Linked DNA regions of Homo sapiens: all the other regions are linked to region 2. The links are contacts of gene promoters, found by promoter capture Hi-C in blood cells and fetal thymus (Javierre and others, 2016). All regions are on one chromosome and are shown on one strand. Each heading gives the region's core, a stretch centred on a gene start or on the middle of the fragment in contact. The rest is flanking DNA. Distances are from core to core; before and after follow the strand shown.

Region 1 (3,884 bases), core at 1,238-3,737, 56 kb before region 2:
TAGAGAAAAAAAAGTTCAGTATCACTGATTATTAGAGAAAAGCAAATCAAAATCACAATGAGATACCACCTCACACCAATCAGAATGGCTACTATTAAAAAGTCAAAAAATAGCAGGTGCTGGCAAAGTTGCTGAGAAAAGAGAATACTTACACACCCTTGGTGGGAGTGTAAATAAATTAGTTCAACCATTGTGGAAAGCAGTATAACAATTCCTCAAAGAGCTAAACCCATGCAGAACTACCATTTGATTCAGCAATCCCATTATTGGGTATATACCCCCAGAGTATATTCTCACTATATTATATAAGTAGTATAAATGATGATTTATAGTATTAATCATTGTACCACAAAGACAAATGCATATGAATGTTCACTGCAGCACTATGCACAATAGCAAACACATGGCATGTGAATGTTCACTGCAGCACTATGCACAACAACAAACACATGGAATCAACCTAAATGCCCAGCAATTAAAGAGTAAATAAAGAAAATGTGGTACATATACACCATGGAACATTAAGCAGCCATAAAAAGGAATAAGATCACGTCTCTTGCAGGAACATGGATGGAGCTGGAAGCTATTATCCTTACCAAACTAAAACAGGAACAGAAAATCAAATACTGCAAGAGACACTGGGATCTACTTGAGAGTGGAGGGTAGGAGGAGGGAGAGGAGCAGAAAAGATAACTATTGGGTACCAGGCTTAATACCTGGCTGATAAAATGATCTGAAGAACAAGCCCTAGTGACATGAGTTTACCTATGTAACAAAGTTTCACATGTGCCCCCAAATCTAAAAGTTTTAAAAAGAGAGAAAGAGCAACATATCAACTGTGTCTACTATAATTTTTTTTAATAGAAATGCTATTATATTCTACCTAGGAAACAACAGTAGTTCAATAAGTGTCACTATTTCAACTCTTGATCGATTAATTCATAACATAAAAAGATGTTGGTGTGAGGAATATAAAATATAAACAAACAGGAAATATGCATGCTCATAAACAAATGAAAATTATTATAACAACATATTTGTCACAAAATGTCAACCATTTAAATTAGACTTTTGCTTGCCAAAATGTTATATGCCTAGAACATTTTCTATTTCTTCCTAATTCATCTTCCAAACTTCTTATTCAAGTATAACTAAAGTATTTTCAAACATCCACTGAGATTTATTACAATTTGCTTAATATTTTTCTTAAAAACAGCTCATACTATATACCTTATTTTACAAAAAACTTCAACCCTCGCCATGAGAAATAGAAACTGAGCATAAGTAGAAGACAGTATGAAAACACAATAAAATGAACACATCAAAATCCAACTAGCTTCATTTGCCTAGAAGTGATTTCAAGAAATAATAAAAACAAAGTTCAATAAAGAAGGACACTAAAAGACAGGTACTAAAAGACTTCTTGGTTTTCCCAAAAAAACTGAAAGGGGAAAAAAGAATCATTAAAGAGAAGTTGAATAATGTATATCAATTAAGAAAGATAGTATCTCTGAATGAAAAGTAAAAACAACTGATATAAACTCCGTAATGGCAATATCAATGACACAAGATAAAGCAGGTAAAACCATGGAGACTGCTTGGATGAAGAACTAGATCTGTGAGTGTAAGGAAACCAACATAACTAATCAAGAGATCTTGAGACAGAATTCTAAAAAGTAGAGAGCTACAAAGGCAGCTTCAGAGATCTGAAGTGGTTTAAACTCTTCTTAAGAAAATTACCAATATCAGGGAAAAAGCTATTGAAAGAACCAGAGAGAACAATGTCTACAAAACCAAGATCCATAACTACTATCATCAAACAGACTGGAAAAATATGCACATAGAGAGCAGTGAATTAAAGATCTCACCTAAGTGTTTGGGAATTACCAGTATGAGGACTGAGTACTCTTCAGGACCCATCTCAAAATTCTTAAGATAAAACCAGAAGCAGGACTGCATACAGACATTGGGACTCAAAGAATGACAATATGGCAAGTGCCCGTTTTTCCTTGTTGCCTTCTATATGTTACAGACAGGGTATTGCTGAAGGCTCCAACCCAGGCCACTAAAAAAATCCTATTACTCCTAGCCAAAACACCAGGAAAAGAATGGCATAGAAACTGAAAACTTATCCACAACACTGCCAGAAACCACAGGGTAAAAAAAGTACAGTTGCATTCTCCTACACTCCACCACGCACAGACATAATACGGCTGCAATAGGGCTAAAAAGGAAACTGATATTCTTATCCCAATTACCACTAGGAAGCAGACTGCATACCACAATTTCCCAGCAGAGCAGTGTCAGCAGAACAAGCCAAAAGCTTATCTTCCATCCTTTGCTGGCAAAGGGAACTGGTACTCCGGATTCTTCTGGAGTATCAACAAAGAGATGAGTAAATCTTTCATTCTCTACAAAGTAGAAGCAGATTATGGCACAAAGATTCCACTACAGGGTATTTTAGGCAAGGCCGAACCAAAAGCTGACGTACTACCCCTTTGTCATTTGAACCAGGCAGTGCTCCAATTTTTCTAACCAGATGGTGTCAGTAAATAATGAAATTGGAGTTAATTGTATATCTCCATCTAGTGAAAGTAGGCAGTACTCCATTTCACCCAGCAGGATATTATAAAGAGGGCCCTGTGGAGAGATAAGCTTTATTTATGTGGGAGAAAAGAACAGGGGCACTGAAGTTATTTGGAAGTTTGCAACCTCTTTTTTTATACCTGTTAGCAAGGCCCAACAGGAAGTTGTGTCACTACATACTACTAGCATCAACCAGGCAGAATTGGGCAGACCATAGTTGGCATTCTGATTGCCCCAACCTTCCCTTCCATCAGAAGAGCCCAGAAGGGAACTCACCTCAGTTACTACATCCTCATGCTCTAAAAGATAACAATGTCCAGCTTTCACCTAACCCTAAAGAGAGTATCAACAAACTCCACTAGAAACTTCACTATGCACATTCACCCACTTACACAAGAAGGCCTGCTTTAAAAATATAGAGAGAGAATGGCTGGATGTGGTGGCTCATGCCTGTAACTCCATCACTTTGGAGGGCCGAGGTGGACAGATCACGAGGTCGGGAGTTTGAGACCAGCCTGGCCAACGCAGTTAAACCCCGTATCTACTAAATATACAAAAATTAACTGGGCATGGAGGGGCACGTCTATAGTCCCAGCTACTCGGGAGGCTGAGGCACAAGAATTGCTTGAACCCAGGAGGTGGAGGTTGCAGTGAGCTGAGATTGTGCCACTGCACTCCAGCCTGGGTGACAGAGCAAAACTCCATCTCAAAACAAAACAAGACAAAACAAAACAAAAACCACCAGAGGCTGGGCATGGTGGCTCATGTAGGTAATCCCATCACTTTGGAGGCGGGCGGACCAAGAGGTCAGGAGGTCAAGACCATCCTGGCTAACACAGTGAAATCCTGTCTCTACTAAAAATACAAAAATTAGCTGGATGTGGTGGTGGATGCCTGTAGTACCAGCTGCTCAGGAGGCTGAGGCAGGAGAATCGCTTGAACCCGGGGGGCAGAGCTTGCAGTTAGCGGAGACTGCACCACTGCACTCCTGCCTGGGCGACAGAGAGAGATCCCGTCTCCAAAATAAAAAAACAGAGAGAGACAAGAGGACTGCCTAGGCCCAGGAGTTCAAGAGCAGCCTAGGCAATGTACTAAGACCTTGTCTCTAAAAACATAGGAAAAGCTAACAAAAAGAAAACTATGTTCCAGACATCAAAGTGAAAAACAAATTCATGAAATTATAGACTATCAAAAGTAATATTATTCCAATGTACTTAAAGAAAACCCAGTATTCAGTGGATGAAAAGACAAAAAACAAACAGGGAGAAAGTAGTCACAAACCACATATCCCACGAAGT
Region 2 (4,210 bases), core at 981-3,480:
ACTATTTTAAACATTAAGGCAGATCGAGTCACTGTTGCTTAAATCGTATCATTGATACTATAACATGTTTTTCATAAAGCTATTTTCACTTGCATAATCAAAGTTTAACTCATGTTTCATTTATCAGTCAAATAAAGTGGATTTACTAACTATATATATACACATTATACATACATATATATATTACATTTTAGTTTTCTGATCAGTATTTGCCCCCAAAACAAACATACAAAGGAGATTATAGGTAAAAGAACTCAGCGTCTGTACTGAATTAAACTACAAAGTAAAACGTCTTGGTAAGTAAAATGTTCATCCTGAGAAAATAATTAGTATTTCCTTGTCAAATACAATAATAAACTGAAATTCTTAACTACTGGCTTCAGCATCTAAAAGATGGCGCGATTGTTGTACCGTTCTTATTTCACGGGACCAATTGACAACATACAAATACTTTAACAAGATTTTGGTGAGAGGGTAAAAAACGATACACACAGGAATATTCCAGGGCCAAGTTACGCAACAATTCACGTGGGAGTAACTAAACATGCTGCAATTAATAAGCACATATAGGTTTAAAAATGCTGCTGTCAATGTTGGAGATAACGCAAGAATTCTACTTTTAAATAATAATAATTTTTAATAAGCAACATGAAGCTACGTCAGCGCTCTTTACGGTCTATTCCTTGCTAAGGTTTCCGGGTTAATACCTCCACCCTCTTCCCAAGCTTCCCCCTTTATTGCTCCTCCCCCTTTTTACCCGCCATCTTGGCTGATAGGAGCAGCCATTAACTAAACGACAGTGCCAACTTTTCACACAAACAACAAATTCTTCCCACTGTGAGCATGACACCTAAGAAACAAGGTTCCTGAATGGAAAAAGCACACACATTCATGAAATCACATTTGCAGCACTGTGCATCCTAAAAAAGTCAACAAATCACTAAACTTCAGGCTAAACATACACGCATCAGTTTATAGGTCAAATATCTACTGCAAACTCTTCACCGCTGTAACTTACTTGCTACTTACACTTAGGACACCAGGGATATTTTTTTTAAAAAGGCAAAAAAATGTTTAAAATTAGACACCAAGAGCCAAATACCAAAAGGCGAGGGGAAGAAGCAGGAAGTTATGAATTTTGAAAACTGTACACATTCACTATTTGTGACGCTAAAATTCAGGAACAAAAGGCCCTAAAGTAACAGGCATGTGGTGTAGACCCGGTTTAGCCCGGTCCCAAAGCGTCCGATTTTTTTTTTCCTCAGAGTAGAAGGGAGTCTGGAGCAAGGGGCGAAGTATTCCAGAGTACGGGGACAGCAAAGGCAAGAAACACTTTTCCGACCCCTTGGCCATGGAGCAGAGCCAAAATAAATACTGGCTGGGCGGTAAGGAACGCGGGGCCTTGGTAGAGCAAAGTGCGGACCAAAGACTTTGCGTCTGGTTGCTTTTACCTTGCCTAGTAGGGTCTTCGTTCTGGCGCCATCTTCATGAAGCCTCACGAACCCGAAGAGACGGCTGTAGAGAGAGAGACACAGAGCTTGTTAATGGTCTGAGAAAGCCAGTGACTTGCTCCTTCCCGAGTCCAAGAGCGACAGCGACAGATTGGTGAGTGCCAAGCTGAGGATGACCCCGTCATCAACGTGGGCAAGCTGCGTCCAGGCCTTCCCGGAGAGTATCGCCAGCCAACCAGGCGGGTGATGGAGGTGCGTACCTGTCCATGCCACCAAGCGCCTCCCTTTCCTCGACTGTCAGGCTAACAGACTCCTCTTCACTCTCGCGGCTCGCTTTTCCTTCCGCCATTTTCTTTGCCTCATCACCGAAGGCAACAGCGGCGGTAGTGAGCGACACTGCGCAGGATTTCATGGAAACAACAAATTTCCAAGTCCCACGACGATACCCAACCTTAATCGAGTAGTTGAAAAGACGCCTTCAATCGCTGCTTGAGACTGTGACGCCAATTTTATCGCCTCCTCAGCGGCTGCAAGGAAAAAAGCTGAGGCAAAGACTTAAGCTACCGAAGCACGGGCAGCGGAACTCGGCTACCTGGATCACATCTGGGAAACTACAGGGAAGGCAGAAGCTCGCAGTGCTGGAGAGCACAGCAGAATTTCTTAAAATCACAAACTTTGCCAGCACCAGCACAAAGTTGTAATTGTGTCACGGGCGAACCCCACGCAGCCGCCGCGACCTCCCCGCTCCCAACCACTTAGTTGTAGCCAATCTAGGCGACTGATTCGTCTCACGTGATCTTTGTTGACTTACGTCAGGCATTGCTCCACTGTACTCCTAGGCTGCTGGGACCCCGCCCAGCCAGTTCGCCAAGGACCTAGGAACATGACAGAGGCTGACTGATTCTGACCGCTGGTTGGTTGATGGTCACGTCTATGGAGAAAAGGGTAGTCTCTGGGATGGAACAACCTGTAGGTTGTGCTAGTTAAATGCATTAAGATAGAAAATGGAGTGTCTGTGCTGGGTGTTTTTGCAGTTGCGATACGCTTGAAGGGGAAGAGAGCGATGGGAAGGGCGGCATCGGGCATCACCCACGGGGCGCAAATGCGAAAAGAGGACACCATGGACTTTAGGAGAGTCCGTAATGAGGCTCCCACTGTCACAAGCCTTGCGAATGCGAGACCTTGCGGGGCATGGCAGGGAAGCTGCGCAGGCCCTAAACCTTCACCCTCAAGACTTTTGGCCCTAAGGCCTTGTCACCTCCATAGGCTGGTTCTTTGCCCATTTCCTCTCCACTGACCAAGTCTAAAGAGAAGGCATAATATCTTATGACCTCAGTCGGTAAGCCAGGCCCTAGGGAATCAACGTGGCAACTGCATTTATCAGTTCATGATATTATCTAAACAACAAACGATGAGCAAAAAAAAAAAAAAAAAAAAAAGTTACTCCACAAACCCAAAATGTTTATTTCTATTGTGATAATGATAATTCCGTGAGGTCTCAGTAAGAGTAGGAGCTTCTGTGGACAGGAATTATAAGAACAATAATTAAGACCTTCATCACACTTTCAAGATGCAGTAACCCTTAGAAAAGAAAAAAACACCACTTTTTTCTTACTTTCTCAATTGTAACCAAAATTATAAATAATAGGTAAAAGAATTTATTTCTGAACCCCAAATATCTGAGAGAGGTCTTAGTCAATTTAAAAAGTTTATTTTGCAAGACTTACCCATGATACATTTGCCCAAGGTGGTCAGGGCACAGCTTGCTTTTGTACGTTTTAGGGAAACATGATTGGTTCGGTCAGGTAAGAGGGACAGCTCGAAGCGGGGGCTTCCATGTTAGAAATAGATAAGAGACAGGTCGGGCGCTGTGGTTTACGCCAGTAATCCCAGCACTTTGGGAGGCCGAGGCGGGCAGATGACCTAACGTTGGGAGTTTCAGACCAGCGTCACCAACATGGAAAAACCCCGTCTCTACTAAAAATACAAAATTAACAGAGCATGGTGGCGCATGCCTGTAATCTCAGCTACTCTGAAGACTGAGGCAGGCGAATCGCTTGAACCCAAGAGGCGGAGGTTGCGGTGAGCCGAGATGGCACCATTGCATTCCAGCCTGGGCAACAAGAGCAAAACTCCGTCTCAAAAAAAAAAAAAAAAAAAAAAATGTAGATAAGAGACAAGAGTTTGCATGCTTTTGAGTCCTTGATCAGCCTCCTACTGAATACAGAATTTAGTCCGGCTAGTAACTCTGTATTTTTACATAAATAAATAATAAGGCAGAGGAAGCAATCAGATATGCAGTTGTCTCTTGTGCGCCTCACAGGGATAACTTTGAGTTGGGTCTGTCCTTTGTCCACAAGGAATTTCCTTGTGGGCACGTTGTGAGGAACGTATGTAGCTTCTTATCTTTGTACGTATCTTATTTAGGAATAAAATGGGAGGCAAGTTTAGTGACATAGTTCCCAGCTTGACTTTTCCGTTACTTAGTGATTTTGGGATCCCAAGATTAATTTTTTTTTCTCATATTATATGGCATATGTATGTTGAGGAATTGTGTATATTTTTCTATGTAAAGAATCTATAAAAAGTCTCATATATATTAAACGCCTCTGTTGATTACTGTTTTCAAAAGACAAATTGCATAATATTCCATGTATCAAATAGTTTACTGGTTATACCTCCAGATATTAGATATTACAAAAATGTTAATTATTAATGGCATTAGGGGAAATGTTCCTTTATAAGTGAAGAAATGGTAT
Region 3 (4,350 bases), core at 1,548-4,047, 39 kb before region 2:
ATCTAAACAACTAGACACAGTGGCATTAGGCTGGACACACTGCTTTAAAGCAGTTAACGGCAACTACCTTGCTGGCCCAGGAGGCTGGCAAATTAACACTAGGACAGAAGTTAACTTTCAGGTGCCACACACCGTAATAACCCTGTTAGACCAGAGGGGGAATCACTGGTTGTCTATCCAAGAATTGCTAAATATCAAAGACTGTTACTTGAAAATCCTAATATAACTGTAGAAATAGGGAATACCCTAAATCCAGCTACCTTGCTGCCTACAGAAGAATCAAAAGAATTCCCATCACATTGTTGTAAGGATGTAGTAGATAAAGTGTTTTCAAGCAGGAAAGACTTAAAAGATCAGCCTTTTGAAAACTCAGACCTAGACTATTTAACAGATGTAGCAGCTTCATTTCAGACGGAGTTTACAGAGCCAGGTATGCAGTAGTGATAAATGATTTTAAGTCAGGTGAGGGAACAGTAGTAGAAGCACAGTCACTGCCAACTAGATCCTCTGCTCAAAAGGCTGAGCTGATTGCTTTAACAAGAGCCTTATTACCAGCAAAAGGGAGGATAGTTAATATCTATATTGATTCTAAATATGCTTTTGCTACCCTCTATGCTCATGGAGACATCTATAAAGACAGAAGACTTCTAACAGCTGCAGGAAAAGAAGTCAAAAATAAAAAGGAGATCCCGCAACTCTTAGATGCTGTTTGGGCACCTAAAAAGGTGGCCATTATACATTGCAAAGGTCATCAAACAGATGGGTCCTATAAATCCATAGGAAATAGGCAGACAGACAAGCAAGGCAGGCAGCTATGGCAACCGCACCACAGGAAGAAGCTTTAATGTAAGTTACCTCTTTTCCCAAAACCATTACCTTTAGAATACAACTAGGCTCAACCCCATGAGAACCCGATGGTAGATTTTACTTAGTTACCCCATGTAAGAGGACTAAAGTATTTATTGGTCTTTGTATGCACCTATCCTGGGTGAGTAGCTTTCCCCACCCAATCTGAAAAGGCCCAAGAAGTAACGTGGGCATTACTAGCACATATTATCCCCAGGTTTGGGGTGCCTTTGACTATCGGGTCAGATAATGACCCAACATTTGTCGCTGAAGTTGTTCAAAACTTATCCCAATTATTAAAACAAGATGGAAGCTGCACACTGCGCACCATCCCCAGAGTTCAGGACAAGTTGAAAGGATGAACCGGACAATAAAGCAACTGTTTAAAAAGTTCTGTCAAGAAACCCACCTAAAGTGGGATCTGGCTCTGTCCATGGTTCTCCTTTGAATCACATGCACCCCAAACAAGCAAACTGGATACTCACCCTATGAAATTCTGTTTGGAAGGCCTCCCCATCTTATTTTCCAAATTAAAGGAGATCTCAAAGAAGTACGGGAACTAACACTGAGAAAGCAAATGCAAGCTTTAGGTACAGCCGTGAGAGAAGTTGCAAAGCTGGGTGCAAGAAGACTGCCAGTAGGCCTAACTAGCCCAGTTCACCCATACCAACAAACCCAGGGACTCTGGCTGGGTCAAAAACTGGTACCTATCCACATTAAGGCACATATGGAATGAGCCCTTTGTAGTAATCTTATCTACCCCCACTGCTGTTAAGGTTGCTGAAGTGCTTCCCTGGATCCATCATAGTGGGTTAGCCAGCTGCTGCCTAGGATGTGTGGACCAGCCAGCCAGACCCCGACCAACCCACCAAGCTAACTCTAAGATGAGGTGCCAACAGAGACCAAACCCAGACCAGCCGACCTCAGACCCAACTGTTAATGAAAAATCGCCAAGCCCTGCTGTAGTCACACAATAAGAAGCTGACTACTCTACACATGACCAAAGCTTGAGGAGTGTTCAATAGATAAGTGGATATGGATAAGTAAGATATGGACTGATATTTCATAAGTAGATAAGTAAATAAGTAGATAAGTAAAGTAGTAAATAAGTAGATGAGTAAAGTAGATATGGACTGATATTTTAATACCTATTGCTCTTCTAGTAATATTTGCTGTACTATTGTTATACTGCCATTGTTGCCAACCCTTGCTTTCAGGAAGAAACATACCCTGCCTGTGCCTAGTGTGAAGATGTTACTCTCTGTTTTGCTTATATTAACTAATATGTCAAACTTACAAAGGGGGCGGAAATACAATTGAGTTTTCTCTGTGCACCCACACTACTTGGGCAAGGAACACACAGGTTAAAACCTTTATATATCAAACCCTTTATAAGCAAACAGGAGCTTCTCTAGGAATTTGTGTACATAACCAGACTACTTATTCAATGTGTGATCTTGGTGATAATCAGCCCTGTGTCTGCTATGACCCCAAACTTCTACCTGGAACTTGGTTCGACATTAGTGAAAGGTCTGAAAAAGGAACTCTTTAAAATTCAACCTGGATACCCTCCACCAATAAACACTGTGTGTATCTGTATTTAGATGCCTGCCAGATTACAAGAACACTCCTTAAAACTGGCTGCTACATTCCTGACTCCAAAAGAAAGTTGACTGTAACCAGTCATATCCCATACTGGATTAGTGATACTCCACAGTCTCAAGACATACATTTCTCCAGAAACCTCTCCATAGATTGGTATAACTATGACAATTGTGTAAGAGGAAATTCCTGTAGCCTCACTGAATTTCTTATTTCAAATCAGATTCACCTAATTGGGCAATAGGCACTGAAGTCCCAGAGGGATACAGTGATGAAGCCACAGAATAGGAGGCAGATCCTAAGCTAAAGAGATGAGGCATTAAATATTCCAGGGTGCAGGCTACCGACAGCACCATATATTTTTATATTATACCATTATATATTTTATATTATTTTATTTTATATTATCAAAAAGACTCAAGCTCACAAACCTCAGCAATGATTTAAAATTTTCAAGTCATTCAGTGAAGAAATTAACCAAGTAGTTTCTGAGCCATCGTTTACCACTAAAAATCTGTCTGTGCAATTAGCTAAGAATATAGCAGGAAATCTAGGAGTTACCTCATGGTAACTGACATGGAGGATAGATGGCATTGGGAGGCAAAAGAATTGCTTCCCCAGGACAACTACACTTTAATTTTCTCTGCCACAAATGCTCCAGAATTAATCCCTACTGGCTCTAGCACTTGGCTTTTAAAGGCTTCTATTACAGGAAGACACTGCATACCTCGTTGGGGGACTACCTATACACACCCAGCAGGCAAATTAGCTTGTTTAGGGCAACAATACTACAATGAAACTACAGGAAAAACTCCATGGCAAAGAGAAAATAAAAAGGGTAAAAACAGTTCAAGGCCATCTCATTTCATCCCATTTTCTAGGTTCCCTTCTTTAAATCACTCTTGGTATCAACTAGAAACACCAAACACATGGTAAGTGCCTGTAGGCCTCTACTGGATCTGTGGTCAGCAAGCCTACAGGCGGTTGCCAGAAAAACGGACAGGAGCTTGTGTATTAGGTGTTACTAAAACATCGTTCTTCCTGTTACCTTTAAAGCAAGGAGAAACTTTAGGGTATCCTATTTATGATGAGCCTAGAAGTAAAAACAAAGGAGCAGTAAAAGATATAGAAATAGGGGATTGGAAAGATACAGATTGCAGAGAGAATAATGAATTATTATGGCCCAGCCACCTGGGTGCAAGATAGATCATGGGGATACTGTACTCCCATCTACATGATTAATCACATCATTAGGTTACAAGCAGTATTAAAAATTATAACTAAAGAAACAACTAAAGCTTTAGATTTATTAGATGTACTATCTACACAGAATGAGAAATGCGGTTTATCAAAACAGACTGGCATTAGATTATCTGCTGGATTCAAAAGGGGTCTGTAGTAAATTTAACCTGATTAACTGTTATTTAGAAATTGATGACAACAGGTAGGCAGTTATGAAATCACTGCCAAACTGAGAAAGTTAGCTCTCGTTCCAGTACAAACCTGGAAAGGTTGGACCCCAGACTCTCTTGGTGGATGGTTTTCATCTTCTGGAGGATTCAAGACTCTCCTTGTAAGTGTAATACTTCCATTAGGCAGCTGTCTAATACTCCCTTGTTTATTGCCTCTCCTGTTTAGGAAGATACAGTCCACTACACCACCCCCCAAATAATGGCACTAAGTATCAGCCATTACCCAAAGAAATCTCATCTCATGAGAAGGTAGAGAATTATGAAACTAACATAGGTTTTCTCCAAAGTAGTTTCCTTTCCCATGCCTCACCCTCTTTACGTTCTACACGGATTATAAAACACACATGTATAGGTATGGGATAGAAGAGCTAGGCTTTAAACATCATTTATAAAAATAACTTGCTGAAGTTTAATCTGACTTCTACTTAGG

What was found. Contacts are between HindIII fragments. The CHiCAGO score rates a contact against its expected background, and 5 or more counts as called.
Region 1: a contact is called between a fragment that was not itself captured here and the fragment with the promoter of UTY in region 2, in 1 of 17 cell types (megakaryocytes). The highest score is 6.8, in megakaryocytes.
Region 3: a fragment that was not itself captured here is called in contact with the fragment with the promoter of UTY in region 2 in 1 of 17 cell types (megakaryocytes); the score reaches 6.0 in megakaryocytes.

The regions. Positions count from the first base shown.
Region 1 is chrY:13,421,112-13,424,995 of GRCh38, forward strand. All of the region lies in intron 4 of UTY (ubiquitously transcribed tetratricopeptide repeat containing, Y-linked), which reads right to left. Among named protein-coding and RNA genes, the nearest start is that of MIR12120, 56 kb to the right of the region's middle. The HindIII fragment of the contact is 332 bases long and covers 2,322-2,653 here.
Region 2 is chrY:13,477,803-13,482,012 of GRCh38, forward strand. It overlaps UTY (ubiquitously transcribed tetratricopeptide repeat containing, Y-linked), which reads right to left and starts at 2,231. Exons shown (of 30, transcript NM_001258249.2): 1 at 1,712-2,231; 2 at 1,452-1,515. The coding sequence starts at 1,863. It overlaps MIR12120 (microRNA 12120), which reads left to right and starts at 1,375; the gene lies at 1,375-1,464. The HindIII fragment of the contact is 7,265 bases long and covers 724-4,210 here.
Region 3 is chrY:13,438,356-13,442,705 of GRCh38, forward strand. All of the region lies in intron 4 of UTY (ubiquitously transcribed tetratricopeptide repeat containing, Y-linked), which reads right to left. Among named protein-coding and RNA genes, the nearest start is that of MIR12120, 39 kb to the right of the region's middle. The HindIII fragment of the contact is 1,894 bases long and covers 1,851-3,744 here.